Regions from separate parts of the Homo sapiens genome. Here region 1 is linked to region 2. Evidence: promoter capture Hi-C in human tissues and cell types (Jung and others, 2019). All regions are on one chromosome and are shown on one strand. The core of a region is centred on a gene start or on the middle of the fragment in contact, and the rest is flanking DNA. Distances in the headings are between cores, read along the strand shown.

Region 1 (6,534 bases), core at 3,843-6,342, 220 kb after region 2:
GCCATAACTAAGAGATAATGGCCAGGAGACGTTAGGGCCGGGGATGGCCTGCTGGCTAAGTTGGCAAAGCAGAGAGGTAAACATGTTGGTCTAAGGACAAAGGAGGGGTAGACAAGTGGGAGGAAACTAGCCAAACAGCACTTCCTGTTGGCAGTCTGTGAGCTGGGTGAATGGTAGGGCAGGGTAGCACCAACAGATTTCCCAGCCCTTGGGCCCCAGCTCAGGGCAGCAGTAACAGATAATCAGCAGTTAATAGGAGTCATCTCTTAGCCTGGACGTTGCTCTAAACACCACCTCTTGCCAGTCTTCAGGGAAGGGTTCTGGCTTGCCTTTGAGCTAAGTCAGCAGGCAGGTGCTCTCAATACAGAGCACAGCAATTCTCAGGGAGGCGAAGAAGAGGACTCCCTCCACTCAGGAGGGAAAAGGAATGGGGAAAAGAAATTTCCCATCAGGATCTGGTACTCTTCCTGAAGCTGGTGTGTCTAGCTCAGAGCTTGCCAGAGATTCCCTATGTCCACTGCCCGAGGCTCTGAAATCTGAAAGCACCTGAGTGTTTTAGGGAAATAGGGATGGGGTGGATTCATGTACAAAGAGAAAAATAGGTAGAAACAAAAGCAAAGAAAGAGAAGCTTGCCAAATGCCTTCTTCCACTGCTGGAAATCTACATTCGCACAGAGCCCGACTGCCCCTGACCACCTGCTCCTCCAAGGACTGATCTTGAGACTCTGCACAGCCCAGACAAAAGCAGCAGCGGCGACCCCACAGCCAACAGCCTTGCTGGCCTCAATGCAGCACCCTTGCATCTATAGAGGAGACCTCTGTGAGTGTGCGCGCATGCACACGCACCCATGCACACCGCAGCCAAGAGACACTTCCTCAACACAACCACTTCTGGTGCCACAAAGGACATTTCAAAATGAGTCTAAAGCCCCAGGGCCCCTCAGAACTTCCTGTTACTTCCTGGTCAAAGGTTCCTGAAAGCCTTGGAATCCAGGCTCACAGGGATGAGGCCTGTATCTCTCATCAGTGACTAGCACCCGGCCTAGAACACGTGAATGCTCAGGAAATCGCCACTGATTTGAAAGAACACCATTTCCTCCCAAGGGTTCCTAGGTGCCCTCAATGGGGCTCTGTCTGGTTGGGGAAATCGCTTTGAGAGCCCCTATACCTTCCAACCTGACCAGCGGAATTGAATTCCATACTTGACTCCAGAGTGGACTTTTTATTTCACGATGACCATGTGGAAAAGTTGGGGGAAAGAGACCCAAGTCTGTCTGTCTCCTTGGTTGGGGCCCACTGGATTTTCATACATGGTTCACACAACCATAAGCCCCCACTGGCTAATGTCACAAGAGTTCTGAGTGTTGGGATATGAGGAAAGAATAACAGTGGGAAAGTGTTCGGGGCAGATGTGTTTTTTTTTAAGGGGGAAAGAAAGAAAAGATTTCCCCTCCCCAAATGGTACCCTGGGGGCAGCTTGTTTGTTCATGTGACATTGATTGGTACTACTTCTGTTCTGATTCTGCACACTTGTGACTGGAAGGAGCCTGGTTAAGAGCTGGAAGTGTATTTTGCTCTGGTTTGGGGTCTTGCCCTCTTCCAAGAGACCAGCAAGTCTGTGCCAATGTCTGTGTGCTCCCAGCAGACCAGCAAGACTGTGCCAGTGTCTGTCCAGCCACTATGGGCCAGAGCCCTGCCCGTGATGAGGCTTTTCCCAGGGCCCAGGGACTTTGCTCTGTGGTTACCAACTTCTTTTCTTCAGTGGGGAGGGAGGCTGGGGCCTTCCCGAGAGACCTAAAAGATTGCCCACTCTTGGCGGCAAGTGCAGGTAGTTGCTGGCCTCCGACCATCTGCTTCGCCTGCTTCACCAGGCCCGGGGATTGGCTAAGAGGCCCTGGGGTCTGCTCAGCCCCTGCAGAAGCTCTTCCTGAGGCCTGAGTTGTTGGCTCATATAAAAAGGCCTTGGCAGGAGGCTGAGAAAGAAGTCTGGCCTGGGTGAGTGATTTAACAGCTTGCCAGGGGTCCTCTGAAGGGGCTGCTGCTTTCCCAGATGTCTGAAGAGGATCTGACACACAGCCTTTCTCAACAGCTCTCGGCATATGCCCCAGACCTTTGCTGGCAGGCCATGAACTTGACTCCAACACTGGCATCTTCTCATCAGCCTGTGGTGTGACCTGATGAGGTGAAGCTGCCCGCTCCTTCTGGCGAGGAGTTAGGTCTATGAGATCCATCACCAAAGCAGCTCTATTTTTTGACTGAGTATTCTGGTCCACAGGCCTCAGTGCTTTTTCTTTAGCTACAAGGGTCTGGACCACAGCTGATAGTACTTTCTCAGGAGGTGGGAGTCTCTGGGACAAAGAGGCATGGGGTTTGTCAGTAGGCCTGTCTGAAGTCTGGGGTTTGGGACTGCTAGTAATGAGCAGTCTGTCTGGCGGCGGAAGTCTCAGGCCAGTGGGAACTGAGGTTTTCTCCAGTGACTGGGGCCTTGGGCTGGCAGCACCTATGGATTTATCCAGCCTTGGGTCAGCCGTCCCCAGAGGTCTTTCCAGTGGTTGGGACCTGACTGAGGGTGAGGAGCTTGGGCTGGTCACTGGAGAGGGTTTGTCGCTTAGCTGGGGTCTTGGTCCTGCCACTGCTGGTGGCCTGTCCAGTGGCCTCTGGCTGGAAACCAAGGATTGGGATTTGGTCCCTGACCCAGCGAGGTCTCTGACCTTATCTAAAGGCTGGGGCCTGGAGTCAGTTCTCTCAAGAGGTCTTTCAGGTAGCAATGGCCTCTGACAAGTCCCTGCCAGAGCTTTTTTGGAGAGCGACAGCATCTGGTTGGTGTCAGCAGGAGGTTTATCTGACATTTTGGGTGCCTGAGCAGCCATTCCTGTTGATTGCTCTGCCAGGTGAGTGCTTGGCCCTGGAGGCAGCGGTACTGGGGGAGGCACATACTCACGGATCTCCCCAGGTTCCAGAGGATTGGGCCCACAGGGGTCATGCTCAGTACAAGACAGACGCCCATCCAGTTTGGAAATGAAAAGCATCCCTTCTCGATGCTGCTTACAAAAGGAGCTGGGGCACATCTCACAGAAGGAGGCTGCTTCCTTCCCGCAGATGTCACACTGATGCCACGGACATTCCCATTTCCCTGAAAACACAGAAGTAAATCAAAAGTTTAGGAAAAAAGAGATACATATCACATGGGCCAAGGCTATGCTACAGTCCGAAGGTGTGGATGATGACCTTCCTTCACACTGTCCCTGCTTCAGAGAGCTTATGCCACTCACCAGCCACCTCTTGCCCCAGAATTCCAGCTTCTTTTTGTGCACAGAATACATAAAGTAACAGCGAATTATCAAATAGCAACTACTATCAACTAAATATACAAGCAGAAGAGTAAATTGGTATTTCTATGACTATTTCCAGCAAGGAGGTGAGGGGGGGGCGGGGGTGGGGACAACAAAAAGTTTCTTTTACATGAAACTTAAGATATTACTTTTATATTTTTGCAATCTCCATTTGTACTATACAGCTTTTAAATAAGCAACTCAAAGAGAAATATCCTGGTGATTTAGATTCCTGCTTATTTGCTATTAACAGTAATAGAAAAGATATAAAATCATGAAAAATGGAAGATTTACCTTTGCTCTATTTTAAGTCTTGAGATCAGCACAGCACGTTATATGTTGTTCACATGGAATCAGTAGAAAAGACCCAAAGCTGACCTAAGCTTTTACCTGCCTCCCCACATTTCATGAAACCTGAGGGTCTTGACCAGGGACAGTGTTTCCACCTTCAAATCAACTACACCAGCTCCCACTCCTGGCACACAGGCAAGATTGGTTCTATCATAGCCTGCGCCAGTGACGACCCTGAGCAGTTGATTCTGAAACAATTCTACTTCCTGGTGCTGACAGGTCAATGTGATGGCCTTGCCCTCATCCTACCTCAGTTTCTTTTATTTCATGACCCTGGCCAATATACAGTGAAGGAAAGCCAATTTGGGGACAAATTCCTTTTACTTATACCCTAAAGTTCTTAACGTTCTGCAACTCTTGGAAGCAGGTCACTAGTAATGTATAATCTCCTCACCCTGGAATGGCTCCCTACTGGTTTCTCTTTTTTGTTCATTAAAATAGATGGCATATCCAAATCCCTAAAATTCTCTAACCCCAAATCACTACTCAAAGGTTCTCAATTTCTTCAACTACAAATTTCCTGGGTACCACATCCACCTGAGCAGCTTTCTCATGTATTAACTGATACAACCAAATCTCCTTTAGAGGAAAAAAGTCTACTCTGCATGGGGGGAGACTGCACTAGGCGTAGGGGAGCAAGGTAGGAAGTGCTAAAAGGGTGGCAATCCATCTCTCACTGACTAGAACCACCTAAAGGCTTTACTATCTCAATCTTTCTTTCTCTAGAAAGGCAACATGATTTAATAGTCTTGGAGTCAAAAACCCAGCTCTCAATCCAGCTCCTCTATCTATGTGTGAAAGATCACCTCCCCAATCCTCACTCTGTTTCTTCACATGCATTATGGAAGAAAACCAACCATTATGGGCTGCTGGGGGAATGAAATAAACATGACTGTAAGTAAAGGACCTGAAACACAGCAAGTGCACCGCTGTCCCATTCTTCATAACTAAGAATTCTAAGCCTTTGCTTTCATTATTTCCAAAATAAGAAAATAGACCATACCCCTCAAAATTATGCATGGAAAGACCAAATGGCACTTTCTTCAAGGCTGATGCAAATGGCATGAGACCCTGAGTATGATGGAGAGAACGAGTAGCGGTACAAATGGATTTTGGCACCAACCTGCTGGTCGCTTGGTCAGATTGAGACAGTCTGCGTGGTAAACTTTTGGGCAGCCTGGTTTCTTGCAGGAGACGAGCTGGCCAGCATCCCCACAACTAAAACACTCATCTTCTCGCTCCTTTGTGATTTCACCCTGGGTCCTGCGCTTTCCCTGTTGCTTCTTCTTGAATTTCTTTGACTTTTCTTCCGTGGCAATGGGTTGATTCTACAGGTCAGATATTGAACAGTCAGCATTCTGTGAACACATTAGTACCAATCTTAACCGGGTTAACTACCCTCTCTGAGCCTCATTCTCTTCTCTGGGAAAAGAGATTGTCATGAAGATAAAATGCAGGAAAGGTACCTGGTACATCACAGATACGTAGCAATAATTTTTGTATCAACTACTCCTGCCACCTGAACAAAACAGAAGACAAAAATCTTTGTGTTTTTGCTGATCCATAAGGCTGGTGTTAAATGACATGCCTTTCATAAGTTTTATTAGTTAATTAATTTATTTATTTTTCAAGACGGAGTCTTGCTGTGTTGCCCAGGCTGGAGTGCAGTGGCGCGATCTCGGCTCACTGCAACCTCCGCCTGCTGGGTTCAAGCAATTCTCCTGCCTCAGCCTCCTGAGTAGCTGGGATTACAGGCGCCCACCACCACTCCTGGCTAATTTTTGTATTTTTAGTAGAGACGGGTTTTCAGCATATTGGTTAAGCTGGTCTCGAACTCCTGACCTTGTGACCCACCCGCTTTGGCCTCCTAAAGTGCTAGGATTACAGGCGTGAGCCACCGCACCTGGCCAAAGTTTCACTTTTATATTCGTCTACTTTCAGAACTAAACTAGACTTCTGTGTGTGGGTACACATGCCTATTTCTCGTTCATTCAACAAAGCATAACTGAACTTACTATAAGCAATGTGTTAAGACACAAAAAAGTTAATTCATGGTCCCTGCCGTCAATAAGACTACACATCAAGTCAAATTAGCTTCAGGTCCACCACTCCCAAGGCAGACCCTGGAGCAGCCAGCAGATGTTCTCTCTTTGTTCCCTGCAGCCCACACTTGGTCACCAAATCATCTTATCACATTCTTCATTTTAACCCAGAAACATCCAGGACCAATCTGTAAGGCTTAATGGAGGTCCACCCTATTCTGACAGACCAGTATCTACTAAGAGCACACAGTGACCTCTCTAGCATCTACCTCTGACTGACTCCTGTGAAATGCTATCCCATGCAGACATCAAGGATGCTGAAACTGACATCCGCACTACACTTAATACCATTAAGTACAGGTTAAACTGAGTTACTATTTTAATTTATAGGAAACAAGTCAACATCTTAAGGAACAACACCGTTAAACCAACAAAACTAAACAAAAAGCACAATAAAATCCAGTATAATATAGAGGTGATTCTCCTTATTTAACAAGATTAAAAAATGATCATTGAGTGCTCTTCATTTCTGGCCAGGCGCAGTGGCTCACGCCTGTAATCCCAGCACTTTGGGAGGCTGAGGCAGGTGGATCACCTGAGGTCAGGAGTTTGAGACCAGCCTGGCCAACATGGGGAAACCCCATCTCCACTAAAAATACAAAAAATTAGCCAGGTGTGGTGGCAGGGGCCTGTAATCCCAGCTACCTGGGAGGCTGAGGCAGGAGAATCACTTGAACCTGGGAGACGGAGGTTACAGTGAGCCGAGATCATACCATTGCACTTCAGCCTGGGCAACAGAGCGAGACTCC
Region 2 (7,196 bases), core at 364-2,863:
TGGCTGTGGAAGGAGCCACCGAGCTGGTGCCCGCCTCTGGGGACTCTGGGTCTCTCCACTGGGTTGTCTGAATTTATGACTCAAGGAGGGACCACATTGGCGGGCCAAGGAGAAGTGCTTGGATTCTCTGGTCTCCCTGGCCAGCTGTCATAGCTCTCAGGCCCACTCTTCCTGTCAGGGCTGTGATGTTTCAGGGACTTCTCCTGAAGCCCCTTGGGAGGCTGCTTCTTGCCTCAGGACCCCCACCCACTGCCTGCCTGTGCCAGCCACCTGGAGGGAGCCCTCCATTCCGTTGACTGAGGAGGCAGCAGATGTCATAGAACTGCCATTTAGGCCACAAGCTCTCCCTAAGCCTGCTCTGTGCCCAGCTCTGCTGAGCTGTGAGGACCTAGATGGGCCAGGGAGATGGCTGCCTGGGAAGCCGTCAGGCGAGGGGAGAGAAAGACGCACACGCAGAAACGTGGACGGCAGTCACAAGACCGCTAGCAGATGAGGCAGGATCTCAGCATCTGGTGAGAGGTAGGCAGGGACGGCACAGGCGGCCACACTTCCTCTGAGCCAGGCACTTTGCATGTATGGCCACATGCTCATTCCAGTGAGACAGCGGTTGCTCAAGCCATATTTGTCACTTGATATGTGGCATTGGGCAAGTTACTTAATTTTTCTGAGCACCGATTTCCTCACTGTTGAAATGGCGATGAGAACGCAAAGGATGTGGCGTCTGAGGTGGACGGAGCTTAGGGCTGCTTGGGCCACAGTGGGCACAGAGCTGGGTGCCAGGAGGCCTTCAGGACATATTTCCTGGCCAAGTGCATTCCCAAATGGCATTCCTTATCCTCTTCCATGTTCTCTCCCAGAGGTGGTGCTGAATGACCTGAGGCTGTTCCAGAATAAAGGTATACACACAGCCCCGCTATTGGCATCTTGCTAGGCAAGCCAACAAAAGGCGCCCCCAGCAGGAAGCAAAGCTTTAAATGAACATGTGACCTCTCCGGGGCCCCCTGGGACCTGCCACCCACACTCACGTGGTTGGGGCCATTCAGGGCTGTGGGTCCCATGTGGACTGGATGCCCAGCGTGAGTGTATACCGTGAGGGCCTTTGAGCTCTCGGACAGCGTGGAGTGGTCAAGGGAGGCCTCCAGGAGGAAGAGGTGGCCAACCGCCCCAGGCAGCACAGTGGTGAGGGGGCCCTGGAGGGGCTGGCCTGGGGGAGATGCAGGCCAGAACACACAGGTCCCTGAGTGTTGGGCTGAGGAGCCTGGGCTGCACCCCAGGAAGGGGAGAGACAGGTTGGTCTTGGGTTGTGGAGAGTGCTGCATGGAGGCCCAGTGGGGCAGTGGCCCCTGGGGGGATGCCAAAGGCTGGTGATGTTCAGTGGCTCGTGAGGTGGAGAGGAGCAGGTGAACACGAGAGAGATTTCAGGGAGAAAGAAAAGCAGCAAGATGGGGTGAGGCGCTCAAACCAGGACGCCGAGTGGGAAAGCCAGGAGTTGGCTAGAGAAGGGTCCTGGGTGGAGGCAGGGCCAGGGAGTGTCAGGCCCAGGGTGCGCAGCTGCCCGGGGCGGGACGGGGGAGGGGCGGGAACTCATGACTCGGGGAGCCAGACTGCGATCAGACGCGCGTGCCCAGCTGAACCAGGTGCGTGAGAAGGCTGCCTTCAGGTGGCCGGGGGCTCCCTCCAGGTAGGTGTGGGCACCTTGGGCAGCCAGAACCCCAGGGAGGAAATACATGCTGCCCCCAGCCCCTGAGCTGAAGACAGGCTCCCCTCCCCCCGGCCTGCAGCTGTCTCTAGACGGAGGGACGGGAAGTGGCCAGAAGGGGAAGTGTGAGGAGTTCCCGTCCAGCCTGTCATCAGTCTCCCCAGGTCTTGAAGCGGCGGCCCTGCTCCTGGCCGTGACCATGGACCCTCTGGAGACCCCTATCAAGGATGGCATCCTCTACCAGCAGCATGTCAAGTTTGGCAAGGTGGGGACCCCTGGCTGCCAGGCAGCTGCCAAGGACCAACAGTGGGTGGAGAATGCAGCCTCTGCCCCTGCCTCGGACAGCCCAGGCAGACCTGGGAGACTTGGGAAGGGAGTCAGGGTGGAGGATCCCACCCAGGTATGGGGAGTGGAATGGAGTGCGGGTGTCAGCCTGAGACGGCAGGGGCTGAGCAGGCTCTGCCAGACCCTGCCTCCGGGAGAGATGGGAAATACAGGAGTGGGAGAGGGTCGAAGGCTCAAACCTCCCAGCAGGGAAGAGCTTCACAGCCTCTGACCCATGAAATAGTGCCACCGAGGGCCCTAAATAGGGTGAGGGGCTGAGCTGGAGGAGGCCTCAAGGGTGGAGCCCCTCCCTGCAGCGGCACTGTCCTGGGAGCAAGGAGGCAGGGGGTCACCTCTCCTCGGCAGCAGCCCCACACCCCCGCAGCTCAGCTGCAGCTGCTGCCCAGGCAGATAAACCGTCAGTTTCCTTTGCTCGAAGCTATTTGCATGTTTCCTTCCTTAACAGCTTGAGGCAGAGGCCTCCCTCCCACCCCAGCTCTTGGCCTGTGGCCCAAGTGCCCCTTTTTGGGGGTGAGAGGGAACCAATATAATGGCAGTGTCTGGTGGTCTGCCCGGCCACTGGATGCTTTACAAACATGACCCAGTAGCAGTCCCAGCTCGAGTTCTCATGGCCTTTTGAGAGACGACATTGATGCTTGTGGAGGTCACAGTTAGGAAAGAGCGGGCTGGGATTTGAACCCAGGGCTGACCAATCCCAAGCATAGCCAAGGCCTCCTTACCTGGCTCCCTGAGAAACTGGGGAGCAGAGGCCCGCTCCTGGCTGGGAGCGTTTGCCGAGCAGCTTGTGCTGAGCCAAGTGGCACGGACAATCTGCCACCCAAGGGTCTTCACCCTCCCGCTCCCCTCCCGCAGAAGTGCTGGCGGAAGGTGTGGGCTCTGCTGTATGCAGGAGGCCCATCAGGCGTGGCACGGCTGGAGAGCTGGGAGGTCCGGGATGGTGGCCTGGGAGCAGCGGGTGACAGGTCGGCAGGGCCTGGCCGGCGAGGGGAGCGACGGGTCATCCGCCTGGCTGACTGTGTGTCCGTGCTGCCGGCTGACGGCGAGAGCTGCCCCCGGGACACCGGTGCCTTCCTGCTCACCACCACCGAGCGAAGCCATCTACTGGCTGCTCAGCACCGCCAGGCCTGGATGGGCCCCATCTGCCAGCTGGCCTTCCCGGTGAGTGCGGCGAGCAGGGGGGCGATTGGGCTGGGGCACCTGCCCCCGACTTGTCCACCTCCACGCTCACATCCCATCACCCAGCAAGCTCCACCGAGCACCTACAAGCCTGGGAAAAGTAAATCTATAATGACTCTCAGAGGGCCGTGCGTGCCATGGAGAAAATGGACCGCCAGGGGAGCAGGAGGAAGTGAGGGAGCGACGGGCAGGGTGGCCAGGGAAGGCCTCTCAGAGGAGGGCCCTGAATGACAGGAACCCACTGGGCAAAGGTCTGAGGACAGGGGCAGCCTGGGGAGTTGTGAACAGAGGGAGTCCCGTGGGCAGAGGCCCCGAGGCCGGACAGTGTGGGGTGTTTAAGGGCAGAAAGAAGGCGACGTGGCTGGAAGGAAAGGAGTGCAGGAGGAAGCCAACTCACAGAGCTTAGGAGAGCGGCTGAAATGCCCTAGGCCATGTGTGTGGTTTTGTTCTGAGTGAGAGGCGAAGGCTTTGGAGGGTTTAAGCCGGACATGTTTGTAAAGCCCCAAAAGGTCTGTGATGGGTCAAAAGGAAGTGAGCCTGGGGGTTCTTCAAAGAGGTAAACAGAGTTACCATGTGGCCCACAGGTCCACTCCTAGGTGTGTGCCCAAGAGAACTTGAACAGGTGTTCAAACAAAACATGTACATGTGAGGCAGGAGGATCGCATGAGCCCCAGAGGTCGAGGCTGCAGTGAGCTGTAATCGTGCCACTTCACTCCAGCCCGGGAGACAGAGCAAGACCCTATCTTAAAAAAAAACCCACATGGACATGAACGTCCATAGCAGCACTACTCACAGCCACCAGAAGGTGGAAACAGCCTACATGGCCATCAGCTGACAAATGGATAAGCAAAACGTGGTCCGTCCGCAAGATGGAATACTACTCAGCCATAAAAACAAACAAACGCCTGGCACAGTAGCTCTTGCCTGTAATCTTAGCACTTTGGGAGGCTGAGGTAGGAGGATTGCTTGAGCCTAGGAATTCAAGATCAGCCTGGGCAACATAGTGAGACCCTGTCTCAAAAAAAAAAAAGAAAAGAAGAAAGAAAGAAATGTACAGACAAGGTAACTCCATTGGGATAGAAATCAGATGAGTGTTGGCAGGAGCTGGAGGAAGGGAGAAGTGGGGAGTGGCTGCTCATGGGTACAGGGCTTCCATGTGGGATGATGGAAAAGTTCTGGAACTAGACAGTGGCAACAGTGCACAGCCTTGTGAGTATACTAAAAAGCACTGGTGGCCGGGTGCGGTGGCTCAGGCCTATAATCCCAGCACTTTGGGAGGCCGAGGCGGGCGGATCACCTGAGGTCAGAAGTTCGAGACCAGCCTCAACATGGAGAAACCCCGTCTCTACTAAAAATACAGAAGTAGCTGGGCATGGTGGTGCATGCCTGTAATGCCAGCTACTCGGGAGGCTGAGGCAGGCAGAATTGCTTGAACCTGGGAGGCAGAGGTTGCGGTGAGCCGAGATCATGCCATTGCACTCCAGCCTGGGCAACGAGAGCAAAACTCCGTCTCAAAAAAAAAAAAAAAAAAAAGAAAAGAAAAAAAAGAGCACTGATGATACACTTTAAGATGTAAAATGGGCCGGGCGTAGTGGTTCACACCTGTAATCCCAGCACTTTGGGAGGCCGAGGCAGGCGGATTACCTGAGGTCAGGAGTTCGAGACCAGCCTGGCCAACATGGTGAAACCCTATCTCTACTAAAAAAAAATTACAAAAATTAGCTGGGTGTGGTGGCACACGCCTGTAATCCCAGCTACTACTTGAGAGGCTGAGGCAGCAGAATTGCTTGAGTCTGGGAGGCAGAGGTTGCAGTGAGCTTAGATCGCACCACTGCATTCCAGCCTGGCCGACAGAGCAAGACTTTGTCTCAAAAAAAAAAAAAAAAGTAAGATGGTTAAAACAGTAAATTTTATGTTCTCTGTATTTTATCATATTTTAAAAATCAAAAAACAAAAGGCAGTTGAGGTTAGGCATGGAGGTTCGTGCCTGTAATCCCAGCACTTTGGGAAGCCGAAGCACGTGGATCACCTGAGGTCAGGAGTTCGAGACCAGCCTGCCCAATATGGTAAAACCCTGTCTCTACTAAAAATACAAAAAATTAGCCAGGCATGGTGGTGGGCACCTGTAATCCCAGCTACTTGGGAGACTGAGGCAGGAGAATCACTTAAACCCGGGAGGCGGGCTGGGCGCGGTGGCTCATGCCTGTAATCCCAGCACTTTGGGAGGCCGAGACAGGCGGATCATGAGGTCAGGAGATCGAGATCATCCTGGCTAACATGGTGAAACCCCATCTCTACTAAAAATACAAAAAAAATTAGCCAGGCCTGGTGGCGGGCACCTGTAGTCCCAGCTACTTGGGAGGCTGAGGCAGGAGAATGGCGTGAACCTGGGAGGCGGAGCTTGCAGTGAGCCAAGATCGCGCCACTGCACTCCAGCCTGGGCGACAAGAGTGAGACTCCATCTTAAAGAAAAAAAACAAACCCGGGAGGCGGAAATTGCAGTCAGCCGAGATCTCGCCATTGCACTCAAGTATGGGTGACAGAGCAAGACTCCATGTCAAAAAAAAAGGCAGTTGACAGGAGCAAGGAGCCTGGTGAGGAAGCTGTGGCATTTGACCCGGCTGTGTTGCTATGGGCCAGGGTGGTGCTAGTAGAGGAGCTGAGTGGGAAAGAGCACAGGGGACATGCTGAAGGCCTGGGTGTGGGGATGAGGCAGAGATTGGGGGCACCTTGCAGGGTCATAGCAGGTGGCTGTGGTGAGATGGAGGAAGACACCTGGGGTACTGCTCTAGGCTGTCAGACATACAGAAGCTGGCCCAGCCAAGCCCAGGGGCTGCAAGGGACATCCTTTTGTGTCCCCAGTGATCTGCAGCTCTCAGACACCCTCAAGCACAGTGCCTCTTGCCCAGCCCAGCACTCTCAGTGGGGAGCCAGGTGGGAGAACAGGCTCGGAAGGGGACCTAGGCTTATGCAGCGAGCCGGGCAAAGCTGGAACTGGAGCCCAGGCCCCTGGATGCCCCCTGGCTTGTGGAGTTCTGGGATACTGAGGGGAGGGGACAGGGCATGGGAGTGCGGTGCTCTCACCTTTGACTTGAACTCATTCCCCAGGGGACAGGGGAGGCCTCCTCAGGATCCACAGATGCCCAGTCTCCCAAGAGGGGCCTGGTCCCCATGGAGGAAAACTCCATCTACTCCTCCTGGCAGGAAGGTAAGTTGGAGGACGTGCAAGGGCAGCCTCAGCCCCCCACACCCAGGGCTGGGTCTTTTTGGGACTGACGGAGCTGTCCTGGCCACCTGCCACAGTGGGCGAGTTTCCCGTGGTGGTGCAGAGGACTGAGGCCGCCACCCGCTGCCAGCTGAAGGGGCCGGCCCTGCTGGTGCTGGGCCCAGACGCCATCCAGCTGAGGGAGGCCAAGGGCACCCAGGCCCTCTACAGCTGGCCCTACCACTTCCTGCGCAAGTTCGGCTCCGACAAGGTGAGGTGCAGGGGTGGGAAAGGGTGAGGGGCTGACACCCTGGACCCTCCTGCTAATCCCCACCCGTGTGCCCTGTGCCCAGGGCGTGTTCTCCTTTGAGGCCGGCCGTCGCTGCCACTCGGGTGAGGGCCTCTTTGCCTTCAGCACCCCCTGTGCCCCTGACCTGTGCAGGGCTGTGGCCGGGGCCATCGCCCGCCAGCGGGAGCGGCTGCCAGAGCTGACCAGGCCCCAGCCCTGCCCCCTGCCACGGGCCACCTCTCTGCCCTCCCTGGACACCCCCGGAGAGCTTCGGGAGATGCCACCAGGACCTGAGCCACCCACGTCCAGGAAAATGCACCTGGCCGAGCCCGGACCCCAGAGCCTGCCGCTACTGCTAGGCCCGGAGCCCAACGATCTGGCGTCCGGGCTCTACGCTTCAGTGTGCAAGCGTGCCAGTGGGCCCCCAGGCAATGAGCACCTCTATGAGAACCTGTGTGTGCTGGAGGCCAGCCCCACGCTGC

What was found. The method cuts DNA at HindIII sites, captures the fragments that hold promoters and counts their contacts. A contact is called where the count stands out against the background at its distance.
Region 1: a contact is called between a fragment that was not itself captured here and the fragment with the promoter of DOK3 in region 2, in 1 of the 25 tissues and cell types used here (spleen).

Annotation. Positions count from the first base shown.
Region 1 is chr5:177,290,431-177,296,964 of GRCh38, reverse strand. It overlaps NSD1 (nuclear receptor binding SET domain protein 1), which reads right to left. Exons shown (of 23, transcript NM_022455.5): 22 at 4,807-5,011; 23 at 1-3,133. The coding sequence ends at 1,506. Among named protein-coding and RNA genes, the nearest start is that of RAB24, 10 kb to the left of the region's middle. RefSeq lists enhancers at 264-763, 764-1,265. The HindIII fragment of the contact is 5,839 bases long and covers 2,173-6,534 here.
Region 2 is chr5:177,504,243-177,511,438 of GRCh38, reverse strand. It overlaps DOK3 (docking protein 3), which reads left to right and starts at 1,613. Exons shown (of 6, transcript NM_001308236.3): 1 at 1,613-1,681; 2 at 1,782-1,964; 3 at 2,897-3,202; 4 at 6,329-6,428; 5 at 6,524-6,696; 6 at 6,779-7,196. The coding sequence starts at 1,899. RefSeq lists enhancers at 1,208-1,357, 3,178-3,227, 3,248-3,357, 6,980-7,196 and a silencer at 1,488-1,627. The HindIII fragment of the contact is 13,536 bases long and covers 1-7,196 here.